Regions from separate parts of the Homo sapiens genome. Here regions 1, 3 and 4 are each linked to region 2. Evidence: promoter capture Hi-C in 16 types of primary human blood cells and fetal thymus (Javierre and others, 2016). All regions are on one chromosome and are shown on one strand. Each heading gives the region's core, a stretch centred on a gene start or on the middle of the fragment in contact. The rest is flanking DNA. Distances are from core to core; before and after follow the strand shown. Region 1 has its middle 8.3 kb from the start of CARMIL3. Region 2 holds the start of TINF2 (TERF1 interacting nuclear factor 2). Region 3 overlaps NRL (neural retina leucine zipper). Region 4 overlaps NYNRIN (NYN domain and retroviral integrase containing).

What was found. The method cuts DNA at HindIII sites, captures the fragments that hold promoters and counts their contacts. A CHiCAGO score of 5 or more calls a contact.
Region 1: a fragment that was not itself captured here is called in contact with the fragment with the promoter of TINF2 in region 2 in 3 of 17 cell types (activated CD4 T cells, total B cells and M0 macrophages); the score reaches 5.7 in activated CD4 T cells.
Region 3: a contact is called between a fragment that was not itself captured here and the fragment with the promoter of TINF2 in region 2, in 13 of 17 cell types (activated CD4 T cells, naive B cells, naive CD8 T cells and 10 more). The highest score is 12.2, in activated CD4 T cells.
Region 4: a contact is called between a fragment that was not itself captured here and the fragment with the promoter of TINF2 in region 2, in 1 of 17 cell types (naive CD4 T cells). The highest score is 5.3, in naive CD4 T cells.

What each region holds. Positions count from the first base shown.
Region 1 is chr14:24,041,631-24,045,843 of GRCh38, forward strand. It overlaps the pseudogene DHRS4L1. Among named protein-coding and RNA genes, the nearest start is that of CARMIL3, 8.3 kb to the right of the region's middle. The HindIII fragment of the contact is 635 bases long and covers 1,065-1,699 here.
Region 2 is chr14:24,241,373-24,245,692 of GRCh38, forward strand. It overlaps TINF2 (TERF1 interacting nuclear factor 2), which reads right to left and starts at 1,251. Exons shown (of 9, transcript NM_001099274.3): 1 at 769-1,251; 2 at 518-622; 3 at 303-404. The coding sequence starts at 960. RefSeq lists enhancers at 1-19, 680-899, 970-1,229, 1,400-1,699 and a silencer at 1,891-2,185. The HindIII fragment of the contact is 13,864 bases long and covers 1-4,320 here.
Region 3 is chr14:24,107,682-24,112,498 of GRCh38, forward strand. The region is part of intron 1 of NRL (neural retina leucine zipper); the gene reads right to left. Among named protein-coding and RNA genes, the nearest start is that of DCAF11, 4.7 kb to the right of the region's middle. RefSeq lists an enhancer at 1,099-1,393. The HindIII fragment of the contact is 2,327 bases long and covers 2,199-4,525 here.
Region 4 is chr14:24,404,361-24,409,186 of GRCh38, forward strand. It overlaps NYNRIN (NYN domain and retroviral integrase containing), which reads left to right. Exons shown (of 9, transcript NM_025081.3): 3 at 3,509-4,167; 4 at 4,292-4,826. Among named protein-coding and RNA genes, the nearest start is that of NYNRIN, 7.8 kb to the left of the region's middle. The HindIII fragment of the contact is 2,837 bases long and covers 98-2,934 here.

The sequences.
Region 1 (4,213 bases), core at 132-2,631, 200 kb before region 2:
CCTCCTGTTCTTAGCTAGCCCCAGTGTGTTACTACTGAACTATATGATCTTGAGAAAATTCCCTGAACCTGTTTCATCATCTCCACCTTAAGGACATTGGAATAGATGATCTCAAAGGCCCCTCCAGGGTAACTTTCTACAGCTCTATTTAAGCCAGTTTTTCCATTCAGGTAAGTGTGGCCAGATTGACTTTGAAATAATGGTAACTTATTCAAGAAGAACTGGACAGTAAGCACTTGGAGAAATGTGGGTGGAACTCAGTGTGAAAGGAAGAGGAGGGGTCTGGAAATAGATTTTGGGGTGAGATTTGAAATCACGAGAATGAAGGAGCTCCCAAATGGGAAAATGTAAAGAAAAGAGCATAGGGTCAGAGACAGCCTTAGAAGAATAGGAGGTGGGAAGAAAACACTGCAAAAGAAATAAGGCCAACTTCCTGGTGGCTCACACCTGTAACACTTTGAGAGGCCGAGGCAGGCGGATGGCTTTAGCTCAGGAGTTCCAGACCAGCCTGGGCAACATGGCAAGACCCTGTCTCTACAAAAAGTACAAAAATTGCCCAGGTGTGATGGCACGCACCTGTATTCTCAGCTACTTGGGGGGCTGAGGCAGGAGGATGGCTTGAACCCAGTAGGTCAAGGCTGCAGTGAGCTGGGATCATGCCACTGAACTCCAGCCTGGGTGACAGAGGAAGACTCCATCTAAAAAAAGAAAGAAGCCAACCTTAAATGGTTAGCAGCAGATCTTAGGGTAGTTTTCAAAAAAGATGTTTTAAGAAATAGAAGTTATTTTGACGATAGTTCCTAAGAAGGAAGATTTGTTGTTGTTGTTGTTGTCATTGTTGTTGTTTTTTTAAATATAGGGATAAGGTCTCCCTATGTTGCCCAGGCTTCTCTCAAACTGCTCAGTTCAAGTGGTCCTCCCACCGTGACCTCCCAAAGTGCCATGATTCCCGGCGTGAGCCACCACGCCCCGCCCAGAAGGAAGTTTTTATCAACGTGAATAAATGCACCTCCCTTACTTACTGCAGCCCTGGTCCAGACCTTACCCCTCTCCCTAGGCTATGAAGCTTCATGGAGTTATTGATATCCTATCACTATCGATAACAAACTCCGTCTGCTTTTAGAATGTGTTTATCAAGTGCAGTGTAAATGTGAGGAGTCTTTGCCACATGCCACACACCTGGAGCACACCTGGTAAAGGGCGGGTGGGGGCAGCTTCCTCTGTCCCTGCCCTTCTCATTCGTTTCTGCTGCTCCTACTTCTGTCTGCTTCCATCTGCCCTTCACTATCCACCGTCTGCTCCCCTCCCCAGCCTTCTTCCCGGCATGCTCTGCTACCTGGTTGATTTCCAACAGAGACGTGGCAGCTAATATGCCAACAACTATGACACTTAAACTTACACACCCAACTGTCCCCCTTTCAGCTGCCAAAAAGGAATCATTTTTCATTAGCTGGGAAATATTAAAAGCTGCTAGTTAAGTAAAATACTAATTCTGGTGAAATAACCAGTTGCCACTTTATAATATACATCCTTTAAAAAAGTAAAAATAAAAACCTATATTATTTTCTTCCTAACTGCAATGTCAAGAAAATCTGAGATCCAGATGTCTATATTCAAGTGGTACAATATTGGGTTTTATGTGTAAGTATATAATTACATTACATTCGTAATATATTTCACACACATTCTTTAATTACAAAGCTTTAATTAAAATATTTGTCTTTGTATACTAAGGTTAATAGTCCCACGATTTGGAAATGCTAATTTTTTATGATCTCCCATGGTTTTGCTTTTTACTCTGATGTTGTATTAGTCTGTTTTGCGTTGCTATAAAGGAATACCTGAGCTGGGCAATTTATAAAGAAAAAGAGGGTTGTGGCCGGGCGCGGTGGCTAACGCCTGTAATCCCAACACTTTGGGAGGTCGAGGCGGGCAGATCACGAGGTCAGGAGATCGAGACCATCTTGGCTAACATGGTGAAAGCCCGTCTCTACTAAAAATACAAAAAATCAGCCGGGTGTGGTGGCGGGCACCTGTAGTCTCAGCTACTTGGGAGGCTGAGGCAGGAGAATGGTGTGAACCCGGGAGGCGGAGCTTGCAGTGAGCCGAGATTGCGCCACTGCACTCCAGCCTGGGTGACAGAGCGAGACTCCGTCTCAAAAAAAAAAAAAAAAGAAAAGAAAAGAGGGTTGTTTTGGTTTACACTTCTGCAGACTGCAGAAGAAGCATGGTGCCAGTATCTGCTTCTGATGAGGCCTCAGGAAGCTTACAATCATAGCAGAAGGCAAAAGGGAGCAGGCGCGTTACATGGCAAGAGAGGAAGTGAGATACCAGGCTTTTAAACAACTAGCTCTGGCATGAACTAATAGAGTGAGAGCTCACTAATTGCCACCAGGAGAGCACCAAGCCATTCATAAGGGATCCACCCCATGACCCAAACACCTCACACCAGGTTCCACCTTGAACACTGGTGATCACATTTCAACATGGGACTTAGAGGGGACAAACATACCAACTATATCAGATGTCATCAAACATTTCTCAACACTAAAGTATCAGGATGTGAAAACACTATGATTTATTTACCAGTGTTTCATACACATAAAGACCAAAGTGCCAAAATGTTCTTCAGTGAGCTAGTTTTTTATTGTTAAGCTTTGTCCCTCTTTTTTTTTTTTTCCTCGCTGTGTCATCGAGGCTGGAGTGCAGTGCTGCGATCTAGCTCACTGCAACCCCCGCCTCCCAGGTTCAAGCGATTCTTGTGCCTCAGCCTGCCAAGTACCTGGGACTACAGGCATGTGCCACCATGCCCGGCTAATTTTTGATATTTTCAGTAGAGACAGGGTTTCACTGTGTTGCCCAGGCTGGTCTCAAATTCCTGGCCTCAACTGATCCACCCACCTCGGCCTCTCAAAGTGCTGGGATTATAGGCGTGAGCCACTGCACCCAGACAGATTCTGATAGTCTTTACAATGGAGGAACATCTTTCATGAACAGTCTGAATAGAGACCCTATGAAAGTCAGTTTTAAACTAAGTACAGGCACACCTCGGAGATATTGTGGGTCTGGTTCCAGGCCACCGCACAATAAAGTGAATATTATAATAAAGTGAGACACACGAATTTTTTGGTTTCCCAGTGCATATAAAAGTTACGTTTACACTATAATGGTCATCTAATGGTTGTCTATTAAATGAGCAATAGCATTATGTCTTTAAAAATATATACATATCTTAATTTTAAAATACTTTATTGCTAAAAAGTGCTAACAATGATCTGAGCCTTTAGAAGTTGTAATCTTTTTGCTGGTGGAGGGTCTTTTTTTTTTTTTTTTTTTAGATGGAGTCTCACTGTGTAGCCCAGGCTGGAGTGCAATGGCACCATCTCGGCTCACTGCAACCTCCGCCTCCCAGGTTCAAGCGATTCTCCTGCCTCAGCCTCCTGAGTAGCTGGGACTATAGGCACCCGCCACCACACCCAGCTAATTTTTTGTATTTTTAGTAGAGACGGGGTTTCACCGTGTTAGCCAGGATGGTCTCAATCTCCTGACCTCGTGATTCACCCGCCTCGGTTTCCCAAAGTGCTAGGATTACAGGCGTGAGCCACCACATCCGGCCTTAGAGGGTCTTGCCTCAACATTGATGGTGGCTGACTTAGGGTGGTGTTGCTGAAGGCTGGGGTGGCTGTGGCAATTTCTTCAAATAAGACAGCAGTGAAGTTTGCCACATCAGTTGACTCTTCCTTTCACAAAAGATTTCTCTGTAGCATGCAAGCCTGTTTGATAGCATTTACCCACAGTAGAACTTCTTTCAAAATTGGAGTCAATCCTACAAACTCTACCACTGCTTACTCAACTAAGTACATATCATATTCTGAATCCCGTGTTGTGATTTCAACAATGTTCATGGCATCTTCACCGGAAATAGATTCCATCCCAAGAAACCACTTTATTTGCTTATCCGTAAGAACCAGCTCCTCAGCCATCTACATTTTGTCGTGAGATTGCAGCAATTCAGTCCCATCTTCCAGCTCCACTTCTAGTTCTCTTGCTATTTCCACCACATCTGCAGTTCCTTCCTCTGATGCAGTGTTGAACCCTTCCACGTCATCCATGAGGGTTGGAATCAACTTCTTCCAGACTCCTGTTAATGTAGATATTTTGACCTCCTCCCATGAATCACAAATATTCTTAATGGCATCTAGAATGGTGGATC
Region 2 (4,320 bases), core at 1-2,500:
TAATCCTGGCCATTTGGGAGGCCGAGGTGGGCGGATCACTTGAGGTCAGGAGTTCGAGACCAGCCTGGCCAACATGGTGAAACCCCATCTCTACTAAAATACAAAAATTAGCTGGGCATTTGTAATCCCAGCTACTCGGGAGGCTGAGGCAGGAGAATCGCTTGAACCCGGGAGGCAGAGGTTGCAGTGAGCCGAGATTGTGCCACTGCACTCCAGCCTGGGCGACAGAGCAAGATTCCTCAAAAAAAAAAAAAAATGGGTTAGAGAAAATAGCCACATAATAGCCTTCAAACCAGTCTCACCTGCAGCTTCGAGGCCAAATCCACAGGAGCCTCTGACAGCTGCTTCACCTGCTGGTAAAAAGTTTCCTGTGCCTCCAAAATCTTCCTCAGATCCTGCTTTGTCTGTTGAGGATACAGAAGACAGAGAAGTTAGCACCAACATCCAGTAGACAGGAGGAGCAACTTTGCTGCACCAAGTGTAACTGGGGTCAGGGCTTGTTCCGGGGATTACTCACAGCCTTGGGATCCCGCACTATAGGTCCAGATTCTGGAAAGTGGTGATTCAGGGCTTTCAGGACTTGGGCCCAAGGCCGGCCCTGCAGGATCAGCTCCACCACCACCTGTACGGTACTGAATTCAGAATCCCCACTTCGGGGCAAGCTGACCTTTTCCAACTAGTCTCATCCCCAAGCTGTGGGCCCTTGTCAGGTGCTCGCATCCCGCCCCTTTCTTTCTTTCCCCTTCCAGGTCCTACTTGCTCCAATACCTTGGCCTTTAGGCCCATACAAAGGCGTTCGTGGTGCCGGTAGCGAACCAAGCCAGGGGCAACAGCGCGCAGAGATCGCAGAAACTCCAGTACTCGCGGAAAATGTTCCACGCAGCGTCCGCGCACAACCTGCCAGCTAGCCGCGGCGGCGAAGCGTAGAGCTGCGGGACCCGCCACCAGGGGCGTAGCCATGGTCGGCGGGCTCCGCCCGGAGGCGGTCCCTCCGGGTTCCTCACCCGGATGGGTGAGGCTTTCCGATCACTCCTAGGGGCGGGGCTTCTGGCAACTCCCTGTCGCTCCGGTCTGTCGGCTCTGGGTACCTCGCGATCTGACTCGGCTCCCTTCCATCGGCCCCCAGAATTCTGGGGGAGGGGGTCTTCTGGCTCGGGCTGGAGGAGCCTGAGTGGAGAAGCTGACCGTCTCCAGTGGCACTGGGTCGCTCAGCTTTAAACGTCGCCGCTGTCTCGAGCCCGAGGGTGCCTCACTTCCGGCTCCGCTACTAGCTTCCCTTGCCCCGGAAAAGGGCGGTAAGAGGGAGCCAATGGGCGGCCACAGAGGGAACCGTGACGGTGCGTCAGAAGGCCACGCCCCAGCGGAGCTGTAGCTGCCCGCTTCCTGCACTCTCTGCCGGCTGACATGAGTTGGCGGCTGAGGCTGTCGTGGCCGCTGAGGCTGTTGTGGCCGTTCGTCTGGGTCCTCCCAGCCTTGCTTTCTTCGCGGAGCCTGCGGAGAAGCCCCGTCACTCCCGTGAGGCTCGACTTCCTAGTCTGTAAAACGAGGATCATGCCACCGCCCTTTCCCACTGTCTTCACCCATCGAAATTTAGTTCTTTAAATTCCAGACCCGAGCCGGCGTCTACAAAGCCTTCCCCTCTGCGCGCGTCGCTTCCAGTAGGAATTCGACTGTTCCTTTTATAAAACAGAAGAGGGCGCCCGCCCTTAAAAAATAAAATACAGGCTGGGCGTGGTGGCTTGTGTCTAATCCCAGCGCTTTGAGAGGCCGAGGCAGGAGGGTCACTTGAGCCCAGGAGCTCCAGACAAGCCTGGGCGACATGGTGAAACCCCTTCTCTGCTAAAAGTACAAAAATTAGCTGGGCGTGGTGGCAGGCGCCTGTAATCCCAGCTACTCGGGAGGCCGAGGCAGGAGAATCGCTTGAACCCAGTAGACGGGAGGTGGCAGTGAGCCGCGATCTTGCCTCTGCATTCCAGCCTGGGCGACAGAGGGAGAATCTCTCTCAAAGAAAAAAAAAAAAAAAAAAAGAGGAAGAAGAAGAAATAGAATACAGGCTGGGGGCACGGTGACTCACACCTGTAATCCCAGCACTCTGAGAGGCCGAGAGGGGAGGATCGATCCGCTTGAGCCCAGGAGTTCCAGACCAGACTGGATCACATGGCGATAACCTGTCTCTACTGAAAATCAAAAAAACTAGCCGGGCGTAGTGGCACGCCTGTAGTCCCAGCTACTCAGGAGGCTGAGTTGGGAGGATTGTTTGAGCCAGGGAGGTTGAGGCTTCAGTGACTGCACTCCAGCCTGAGTGATAGAGTGAGACGGGGTCTCACACACACACACAAATTAGTTTCTTGTTTTAGGATTCTGTTGTGCACTGAACTTGTCAGCCCCCTAATGTAATTGACTGCTCTCCTTGACTGTCTCTTCCACAGGCTTCCTGGTGCCTCTCATTTCCATCAGCAAGCACAGAACCTAACACACAGCTTACACTCCTTAATTGTTGGCTGGATTAGTTGCCTGCCTTGACCACCTTACAAGGATTTAGTGAAACTGCTCCGTCTTTAGCCCATGTCTTCCATTCCCAGAGATAATGGTTCACACATCCTTGTCTCCGCCCCGGATCAGTCTCAGCTGATCCGCACATTCGACTGCCCAAGAAACACCCAGTCCCAAAGTACCCCAAATTGGATATGTGTGAAATTCTAGTTATCTTCCTTTTTCCCTTTATTTATTCCTTCTCTAATGTTCTTTCTTTCTTATGTAGATATGAACTTCTGTTGTTTTACTTTTTTTTTTTTTTGAGACGGAGTCTCGCTCTGTCGCCCAGGCTGAAGTGCAGTGGCGCGATCTCAGCTCACTGCAAGCTCCGCCTCCTGGGTTCACGCCATTCTCCTGCCTCAGCCTCCCGAGTAGCTGGGACTACAGGCGCCCACCACCGCGCCCGGCTTTTTTGTATTTTTAGTAGAGACGGGGTTTCACCGTGGTCTGGATCTCCTGACCTCGTGATCCGCTCGCCTCGGCCTCCCAAAGTGCTGGGATTACAAGGCGTGAGCCACCGCGCTCGGCTCTTTTTTTTTTTTTGAGGTGGGGAGACAGTCTCGCTCTGTTGCTCAGGGTGGAGTGCAGTGATCTTGGCTCACTGCAACCTCTGCCTCCTGGGCTTAAGTGATCCTCCTGCCTCAGCCTCCAAAGTAACTGGGGCTACAGGCATGCACCACCATGCCTGGCTCATTTTTTTCTATTTTTTGTAGAGACAAGTCTTTGTTGCCCAGGCTGGTCTCGAATTCCTGGACTCAAGCGATCTTCCCACCTCGGCTTCCGAAAGTGTTGGGATCGCAGGCGTGAGCCACTGCACGCAGTCCCTGGCTAATTTTTTAAAAAATCTTTTTTGGTGGGTGTGGTGGCTCATGCCTGTAATCCCAGAACTTTGGGAGGCTGAAGTGGGAGGATCACTTGAGGCCAGGAGTTTGAGACCAGCCTGGGCAATACAGTGAGACCCTGACTCTACAAAAAAAAAAAAAAAGAAAAATATGTTTTGTAGAGAAGGGGTGTCTCTCTGTGTTGCCCAGCCCAGTCTATCTTCATTTTTTGTTTTTTGTATTTATCCTGCTTGCTGCTCTCTGAGCTTCCTGGATCTGTGTTTTGTGTCTGTCATTAATTTGGGGGAAATTCTCAGTCATTATTGCCACATTTCTTATGTTCCTTTATTTTCTTCTCTGCCATTCTGATTATGTGTATGCTACAGCTTCTATAATTGTCCTACAATTCTTGGATATTCTGTTCTTTTTCATTTTTTTTTCTCATTGCATTTCAGCTTTGGAAATTTCTGTTGACATTTCTTCAAGCGCACCATGTTCTTTGGCCATGTCCAGTCTATTGATGAGCCCATCACAGACATTCATCATTTCTGTTACAGTGGGTTTTTTTTGTTTTTTGAGACAATGTCTTGCTTTGTTGCTCAGGCTGGAATGCAGTGGCTCAATATCAGCTCACTGCAACCTGTGTCTCCCAAGTTCAAGCGATTCTGGTGCCTCAGCCTCCCAAGTAGGTGGTACTACAGGTCGTACACCACCACGCCCGGCTAATTTTTGTTTTAGTAGAGATGGGGTTTTGCCATGTTGCCCAGGCTGGTCTCGAACTCCTGACCTCAAGCGATCCACCTGCCTTGGCCTCCCAAAGTGCTAGGATTACAGGCGTGAGCCACCGTGCCCAGCTGAATTACTCATTTTCAGCTGCTATCTCTGTGTAGCTGACTTCTTGGGAGTCCGAGGCAGGTGGATTGCTTGAGCCCAGGAGTTTGAGACCAACCTGGGCAAAATGGCG
Region 3 (4,817 bases), core at 2,112-4,611, 130 kb before region 2:
TTTCCTTCAATTTACCCATTGACGAATCCAGACTCAGATGTTCAGTGTCTAAATGCATTAACTCACTAGGGATTGCAAAACAGCCATATTTGAGTTGTCATAACATTGCAATAATTTTATAAAATGGACACTTCTATTTCATTACCCTATGGTATTGTTTATATAGAAACAGCAGGATAACTGCTTAATTCTTTATCTTTATTTATCATCTTCAAAAAAATGATTTGATTTCCTATTATCCTTTGAAAAGGTAACCAGTTAGTTACACACAAACATTATGAACTCATGGATTTAAACATACTTAGTGTTTATTAAATTGACCTTATTAAATGTTCAAATTGTCCCACATTTGGCTATGGAAGCTAGGCCAAAAAGAGCTGAGTCCTTTTGACATGATACATACTCCTTGCTTCCCGGCTATCTGGTATAAGTTGCTCCATGCTCATTGTGTTCATTTCCTTCCCCAAACCTGGAATCAGCTTTTTCTCTAAGAAGCTCTGGCTTCTTTCAGGGGGAAATGGCGTTTTAAGACCACAATCTGGATGCTAGGAGTGTTCATTGATACTGGATTGGTCATTGTTTCTAGATCTTTTTGGTGGATAGCGACAGAAGATAAAACCTCATGAACTCATACTGACATGTTCTATTCAAAATCAGGGCTAAAGGGTTTTCTGGAAACATGGTCTTGCTTTGTTGCCCAGGCTGTAATGCAGTAGCGTGATCACAGCTCACTGCAGCCTTGAATTCCTGGGCTCAAATGATCCTCTTGCCTCAGCCTCCCGAGTAGCTACAGGTGTAAGCCACCACACCTGGCTAATTTTTTTTTTTTTTTTAGAGATGGGGTCTCACTATGTTGCCCAGGCTGGTCTTGAACTCCTGGTTTCAAGCAATCCACCTGCCTCAGCCTCTCAAAGTGCTGGGATTACAGGTGTGAGCCACTACCCCGGGCCACTAAAGGGTATTTACTTATATTACATCTATAGCTCCTACCCTACACACAGAAAAATCTGATTCTTACAGACACAAGACATGAGAGTATTAGAACATCCCATAGTTACTTAGTGGCTTTCTAGTCAACACATTTTAAGTCCCTAGGTAAATTATTAGCACACTCTCCATTTCCATCGACACAGAGAATACTATAAGGCAATGTTCAAACACATGTATGAGCATCAGTCACTCCAAACACGGAACTGTCCCAGGAGCTCTGTGTGGTCACCAAGCTGGGAGCTGCAGTAGAGGAGAGGAGGACAGGGTTAGCTAGAGAATGAAAACACTCCTTTCCTTCTCTCCTCAGCAGCCCAGCCTGCCCTCTAGTGGAGATGCTAATGAGCAGGAAACAGGCCAAGACAGGTCAGGCAGGAAGTCAACTAGCTGACATTTACTTAGCAATTACCAGAAATTGTCCTAAAATGGGTGCTGAAGGTAGAAAAACCTCTCTGTGGCTTTAAGTGACTTTAAGTGCAACTGGAGAGAGTAGAGGTTACCCAAATGAAAAGTGCTTCACAAACTGTAACCACGCAACGTACCAAATTTCAAAATCAAGACAGCATAGGCAAAATTTAGTCTATCAAAATGACTTCACCATAATTATTTTTAAAGATATGCCATTTTATTTATTTCAATAGACACACTGTATACCCTAAGATATAAATGCTCTTACACATTTTGAAAAACATTACAGGTCATAGTGAGATAATCAAGTTCATAGGCTTAAAAATCTTTTATATGCTGCCAGGCGTGGTGGCTCACACCTGTAATCCCAGCACTTTGGGAGGCCTAGGTGGTCAGATCATGAGGTCAGGAGATCGAGACCATCCTGGCTAACATGGTGAAACCCCGTCTCTACTAAGAAAAATACAAAAAATTAGCCGGGCATGGTGGCGGGCGCCTGTAGTCCCAGGTACTCGGGAGGCTGAGGCAGGAGAATAGCATGAACCCGGGAGGCGGAGCTTGCAGTGAGCCGAGATCGGTCCACTGCACTCCAGCCTGGGTGACAGAGCAAGACTCCATCTCAAAAAAAAAAAAAAAAAATCTTTTATACGCAAAAAAATTAATCAATGAATCCAGTGATTAATCTTATATTCTTTCCCATGTGATGTGAAGGACTCAATTTTGTCATAAAACCTCAGTTATTTTAACATTTACCATGACTTTTAAATGTTTTACTCAATAATGTACAAGTTCCATATTACAAAAGCTTGAATTAAAAGATTTTATTCAGGTTTAAACTAATTTGTAAGAAGAAGAGAAAAGAGAATCAAAAAATGAATTGTTAAGGAGATAAGTTTAACAGAAGTTTTTTGTTCGTTTTTCTGGACCTCAGGTGCTATAGCTGTATTCATCATAATCCTTTGTAGAAGCTACACCTTTGTCACCAGTTCATGCAAGCCCTCCCCACTTTGTTTAATGATGTAATGAGCTGGGTATTATTATACTTTTTTTTTTTTTCTTTGAGACGGGGTCTCATTCTCGCCCAGGCTGGATGAAGTGCAGTGGCGCAATCATGGCTCACTGCAGCCTTGACCAGACTCAGGTGATCCTTCCACCTCAGCATCCTGGGTAGCCAAGACTACAGGCCCAGCTCAATTTTGTTTTTGTATTTTTCGTAGAGATGGGGTTTCGTCACATTGCCCAGGCTGATCTCAAATTCCTGTGGTCAAGCGAGCTGCCCGCCTCAGCCTCTCAAAGTACTGGGATTACAGGTGTGAGCTACCACGCCTATTATACTTTCTAATGAAAAAATGAAACCACATCGTTTTTGCATCTATTACATGTCACCAGAAGAAATGATTATCTTTATTTTTTTAACTTGACAATGTAGTTTGCACAATTTCCTATGGTATAAAAATAGAAGGCTACAACAAACCTATACCAGGAATAGGTACCTTAAAAAAAAATTGAAGACTACAACACCATTTTAATAGCTACCTGGTATTTCTGTGTCTATACTACATGGACCATAATTTATTTAACAATCCCATATTGCAAGATATTTAGATCTTTGTTTCCAGTGTTCCACTTTTATCAATAATTGCTATGTAGAACATAAATTTTTATGCATGTCCGGCCTAGATTTCTGGAAGCAGTATTACTGGGTCAAAGTGCAAGGCTGTGAGGAAGGGAGTTTTGTAGACAGCTTCCCTCTAATAAGAAATTCTCCTGGGAAGGTGCAGAGGTAAAAATAAACAAGCTATTTATTGGCATATTTGCTTAGCAGAAATATCAAAAAATGAGGTTACTAAAAATAGACATCCAGGTTTGGAAGTTTGTATTTGAAACAATGAACAATAGTGAGCCATTTGTTGATTTTCTTTTAGAGACAGTCTTTAGCTCTATCCCCAGGCTGGAGTACAGTGGAGCAATCATGGCTCACTGCAGCCTCCACCTCATAGGCTCAAGATTCCCTCCTTCATCCTTCCCAAGTAAGTTGGGACCATAGGCACGCGCCACGATGGCCGGCTATTTTTTTTTTCTTTTTGTAGACTGGGTCTCACTATGTTGCCCAGGCTGGCCTTGAACTCCTGGCCACAAATGATCCTCCTCCTCGGCCTCCCACAGTGCTGGAATTACAGTCGTAAGCCACCGTGCCCAGCTCACTTGTGCGTTAAGCACTAAATGCTGTTAGAGGAGGATTCTTCAGCAGATCAACTACCGGAAGAGGCATAGGTGTTTTTTGTTTGGTTGGTTGATTGTTTTTTGTGTGTGTGTGACGGAGTTTCGCTTTTGTAGCCCAGGCTGGAGTGCAGTGGCGTGATCTCGGCTCAATGCAACCTCCACCTCCCGGGTTCAAGCGATTCTCTTGCCTCAGCCTCTCGAGTGGCTGGGATTACAAGCGCATGCCACCACACTCGGCTTTTTTTTTTTTAGTGACGGGGTTTCACCATGTTGGCCAGGCTGGTCTCGAACTCCTGACCTCAGGTGATCCACCCGCCTTGGCCTCCCAAAGTGCTGGGATTACAGGCGTGAGCCACCGCGCCCGGCCAATTTTTTTAAAAAATGATTCCGTCCTGAGACTTTGCTGAAGTTGCTTATCAGCTTAAGGAGATTTTGGGCTGAGACGATGGGGTTTTCTAGATAAACAATCATGTCGTCTGCAAACAGGGACAATTTGACTTCCTCTTTTCCTAATTGAATACCCTTTATTTCCTTCTCCTGCCTGATTGCCCTGGCCAGAACTTCCAACACTATGTTGAATAGGAGCGGTGAGAGAGGGCATCCCTGTCTTGTGCCAGTTTTCAAAGGGAATGCTTCCAGTTTTTGCCCATTCAGTATGATATTGGCTGTGGGTTTGTCATAGATAGCTCTTATTATTTTGAAATACGTCCCATCAATACCTAATTTATTGAGAGTTTTTAGCATGAAGGGTTGTTGAATTTTGTCAAAGGCTTTTTCTGCATCTATTGAGATAATCATGTGGTTTTTGTCTTTGGCTCTGTTTATATGCTGGATTACATTTATTGATTTGCGTATATTGAACCAGCCTTGCATCCCAGGGATGAAGCCCACTTGATCATGGTCGATAAGCTTTTTGATGTGCTGCTGGATTCGGTTTGCCAGTATTTTATTGAGGATTTTTGCATCAATGTTCATCAAGGATATTGGTCTAAAATTCTCTTTTTTGGTTGTGTCTCTGCCCGGCTTTGGTATCAGAATGATGCTGGCCTCATAAAATGAGTTAGGGAGGATGACAAATGGGATCTAATTAAACTAAAGAGCTTCTGCACAGCAAAAGAAACTACCATCAGAGTGAACAGGCAACCTACAACATGGGAGAAAATTTTCGCAACCTACTCATCTGACAAAGGGCTAATATC
Region 4 (4,826 bases), core at 266-2,765, 160 kb after region 2:
CTACGCTTTTTAAATCCAATTTGAAACGTATGTATTCTATTCTTGTTTAGTGTCTACCATATTCTTTGTTACCTCTCTGAGGATAGAAATGATAGTAAGCTTTTTGAAGTTTTCTTCTCCCCCCTAGTTTCTCTTCTTTCAGGTTGCTTTTTTGTTTTCCTGTATGGTTTGTCCTCTGTGTTTCACATTAGAAGTTTTCCTCACAAGCCTGATAATCCTTGCATGATAAAGAGTGAAGGACAAAAAGCTGATTGGGAGTGGAGGCTGTGGGCAAGACTTGTTGGTTTTGAGCTTGATTGTACAGAGATTTGCAGGTGCTGTTGGTTAGGGACCCCGTTTTGTGATCTTTAAGTCTCTGCTCTTGGGCTGGCCAGGTTTTCCAGAATGTATGCCTGCTTCCCTGGCCTGGAGGGTCAGGGTCTGGCTGCCAAGCAAATCTCTGAGTGGGAAGAATGAGTTTCTCTGCGTTTAGCTTGCATTGTATACATCATTCTTTGGCCCTCCTCACTCCCTCCATGTTTTTTTGTGTGGTGCTCACACCTTCGATTATGCTGATCAACCTCGACTCCTAAGACCTTGTTTTGTACTCCCTGGAGAACAGCCCTCCAGTGAGCGGGAAGCTACTTGCCAAGCCTGTGTGTGTGTGTGTGTGTGTGTGTGTGTGTGTGAGAGAATGTGTGTGTGTGAATGTGTGTGAATGTGTGTGAATGTGTGTGTGTGTGTGTATGTGTGTTGGGAGTGGTTGGGCTCCCAGATCTAACTGCTCCTCAAAGAACCTGGTTTTTCATGTTCCCCTTCACTTCCAATTCCAGAGTTTCTTGTTGTTGTTTTCTGAGCCTTTTGAGTATCCTGCAGTGTAAATTGGGGTGGTTCTGGAAAGTAGACAATGAATGATAACTGACTTATGAGAAAGGAGAACCCTAAGTTAGGTGTTAAGTAATAAAGCACCTTGACAAGTACAGAATAATATTAAAATATGTCATATAAATGCTTTTATTTAACTTACAAGTTGACTAACGACCTGTGGGTATTGGACAATATATTCTTACAAATACAGTGCTCTTTTTCTGTGTCCTTTTCTATTCTTCTGTATCATCTTTCTACCTAGTTGTTAGTTGTTCCTGCCTCTTCTTCTCTACTTTTTCTCCTCTTGGAGGAAGAAGGTCTGGGTTGGCTTTAGGCAGGAAAGCTGTTCAGGTATTTTCAGGCTGTAAATGCCTGTTGTTTCCTTATCTTCTCTCCCTCTACAGTATAGACGGCATCATGGTGAAGACCCCCGACTGTGGAGCTAGAGTGCCTGAGTATCCCAGCCTACTAACTGTGTGATCTTGGACATATGGCCTTCCTTGCTCATCTAAAATGGGGATAATAGTATTTCCTTAAAGGGCAGAGAGAGGAATAAATAAGATAATGTGTGCAAAGTGCCTGACACATAATAAGCTCTCACTAAATATTAGTTCATATTTATTATTTTAAAAATTATCACAGTTCCTATATATTTCTTAATTTTAAAATATCGGGCCGGGCACGGTGGCTCATACCTGTAATCCCAGCACTTTAGGAGTCTGAGGCGGGTGGATCGCGTGAGGTCAAGAGTTCGAGACCAGCCTGACCAACACGGCAAAACCCCATCTCTACTAAAAATACAAAAATTAGCCGGGCATGGTGGTGCACATCTGTAATCCCAGCTACTGGGGAGGCTAAGGCAGGAGAATTTCTTGAACCTAGGAGGCGGAGGCTGCCGTGAGCTGAGATCACTCCAGTGGAAAAATTCTGGTATCAGAGCCTCTAGCTGTGCCACTGTACTCCAGCCTGGGTGACAGAGTGAGACTCTGCCTCAAAAAATAAAATAAAATAAAATAAAATAAAATAAAATAAAATAAAATAAAATATTGGACAGTTGATGGAACCATAAATATTCTAAGCTCTCTGCAGAAAGAGAAAGAAGCCACCCATAATCTTCTTCCCCAGCACATCTCTCCATTTTTCATGTTGTTTTCCGGTCATTGAAATGGGGGTGCCTGGGGTGGGGGAATATTTGTTAAGGTCTGAGACAGCCCACACCTGCTCAGATTTAACCTTGCTAGGCAGTGGGACCAGATGAGGTTGGGGTAGGAGGGGTTGGCTTGGGATGTCCATCAGGTTTTGAGCTGGTTTTGAACTGATTGAAAAGGGGTTAGACATGTATTTCAGGCTCTGAGGAAGAAGTTGCAGGTCTGTGGCCTCGGCCAGGTGGAAGAGGGACACGTAGGCCTGAGCCGGGAAAGATGGCCCGGGGACTGAGCAGAGGCACCTGGGTGGTCTTCAGGATCGCTGCTGGAGATCCAAAATGGAGTATGGGACTGCCAGGGGAAAGCAGGAAGAGGGATGAGAGGGATGACTATCAAAGAAAGGGGATGTGGAGGGGCATGGGGGCATATGAAGTCCACATGGGGTGGCTGATTGGAGCGAGAGCTCATGGGACCGCACAGATGGAACTCAGCCAGAGTGGAGAAACCCCAACCTCGCCCACCCCAGCCACTGCTAAAGATGGCAAGTGTGTGCCCTGTGAGCTCTGTGAACTCTAGGACTTGGTCTGCCCAGAAAGCCAGAGTTCTTCCTTCTCTTTAGCTATTGTGTGTATGTGCGGGTGCAGGGGTTCCCCTGGACACTGGCCCAGTGGCTTATCTCCTGCTCTGTTGCCTCTGGGCAACAGAGTTACTATGATTAGGGGTACAGGTTGTGCTAGAGGCATTCTGGAGGGGGATGAAGCTCGAGTCTCACATGATTACCCTGTAGTCACTGTGGTCTGCCAGAGGAGGTGGAAAAATTTCTAGTATCAGAGCCTCTAGCTGTGTGCCCTTGGGCAAGCTGCATAGCTCTTCTCAGCCTGCAAAATGGGAACAGGCTGTGCCAGGTGTCATCCTCAGTACTTTCTGCGTATTAATTCACTGAAGCTTCAGAGTGGCCCAATGAGGCAGGAACTATTACTGTTCCCATTTTACAGAGGAGGAACTGCAGGCACGGGGGCAGGCGTGTTGTGTGATTAATAACTTGCCACAGGTTGCATAGTTCCTAGCTTATGGAGGGTGCCCAGTAGTGTGCAGCCACTTTCTCCCCAGCTGTCACACAATTCAGGAATGCCAGACTGGGACTAGACCTCAGGAGCATCCAGTTTAACCTTTCTTTTTCTTGGTGAAGAGACTGCGGTGCTGAGAAGGTGATAGATGCCCCACAATTAACCTAATCAGTTGAGGTCGAGTTGGAGCTGCAACCTGGGTTCTTTCCCTCCTCTCTCCCAGGCTTCCCTGTTCTGTTGGTGTTCCCTGGAAAGAAATGGGTGTGTGAGGGTGCAGGACCAGGGAGAGAGTGGCTGGCCATGGGGGAGTCATTTGGCTCATGGTGGATGGGGGGTGGTAGTGGTGGGGCCACATGGTTAGTGAGGGGCTGGCCTTTTGGGTGGCGAGGGCAGATCCAGGGGCAGGCCCCCAACGGGCTGACTTCATTGTGTTCTCCCCATTGTGCCCAGGAATACCTGAAGGGCCTGTGCAGCCCAGAGCTGTGGAAAGAGGTTCGCTACCCACCGATCCTGCACTGTGCCTTCCTTGGGGCCCAAGGCCTCTTCCTGGACTGCCTCTGCTGGAGCACCCTTGCCTACCTGGTGCCTGGCCCCCCTGGCTCCCTGATGGTGGGCGGGCTGACTGAGTCTTTCATCATGACACAGAACTGGCTGGAGGAGCTGGTGGGGCGACTGCGCTGGGGCCCTGCCCCTCTGCTGACCCCCCGGGGGATCTGGGAGGCTGAGGTGACCCGGGCCTTTGGGGCCCTGGTCTGGATCCGTGGTGACCAGCATGCAGGGGACCTACTGCAGCTGCCCCCAGCGGTCCAGGAGCTGCTGCTGAGCCTGGTGCGGGATGCTGCGGGCAAGGAAGACATCATCGAGTGGCTCAGCCGCTTCGGCATCTCTGACTCCCACTCCGATCCGGAGGTTCTAATCTGCCCTCCCCAGCAGCAGAAGGAAGCCCCAGCCATGGTGTCCGTGGGAGAGAGTCCTGGACCCTTTGTGGACATGGGGACCCTCCAGAACAGGGGCCCAGAAAATTCAAAGAGATTATCTAGCCTGGGAGCCACTGGGTCCCTGATCACAGCCCAGAGCACACCGCAGGAGGCAGCAAACCAGCTGGTACGGTAAGTTCTGGAGAATGAGCCTGGCTTCTCTGATCCTACCCCTGCTCCCCTACCCTAAGGAAATAGTAATAGTTTGGGACCAAACTGGCCTTCCACCTTTTCAATGAACTTGGGCTTCCTCCAGGGTCGGTTCCAACAACCAAGATGGTATGGACAGTGCTCAAGAGGAAGGGACAGTGCAAGCCACCAGCAGCCAGGACTCCACGAACCACACACAAGCCTTGTTGAAGCAAAGGCAGGTCCAGAAGATAGAAGATAAACTCCTCTTCCAACCTCCAGTATCAGCCCTGGGTGTGTGCCCACCCTGGAAGGCCTGGACCCCGGGGCCAGCCTTTGGGCCATTGTGGCCGGGGGCTATTGCTGCAACCTTCTGGAGGATCAATGAGCTGCATTCTCTACATCTGGCCTGGCTCCTGTCCCAGGCGTGCTTCAATTTCCCCTTCTGGCAGAGACCTCTGGGCCCCATTCAGTTGAAGCTGCCAGGGCAGAATCCTTTGCCCTTAAATCTGGAGTGGAAGCAGAAGGAGCTGGCTCCTCTGCCTAGTGCAGAAAGCCCAGCTGGTAGACCAGATGGGGGGCTGGGAGGAGAAGCAGCCCTGCAGAATTGCCCAAGGCCAGAGATTTCCCCAAAAGTTACGAGTTTATTGGTGGTCCCTGGG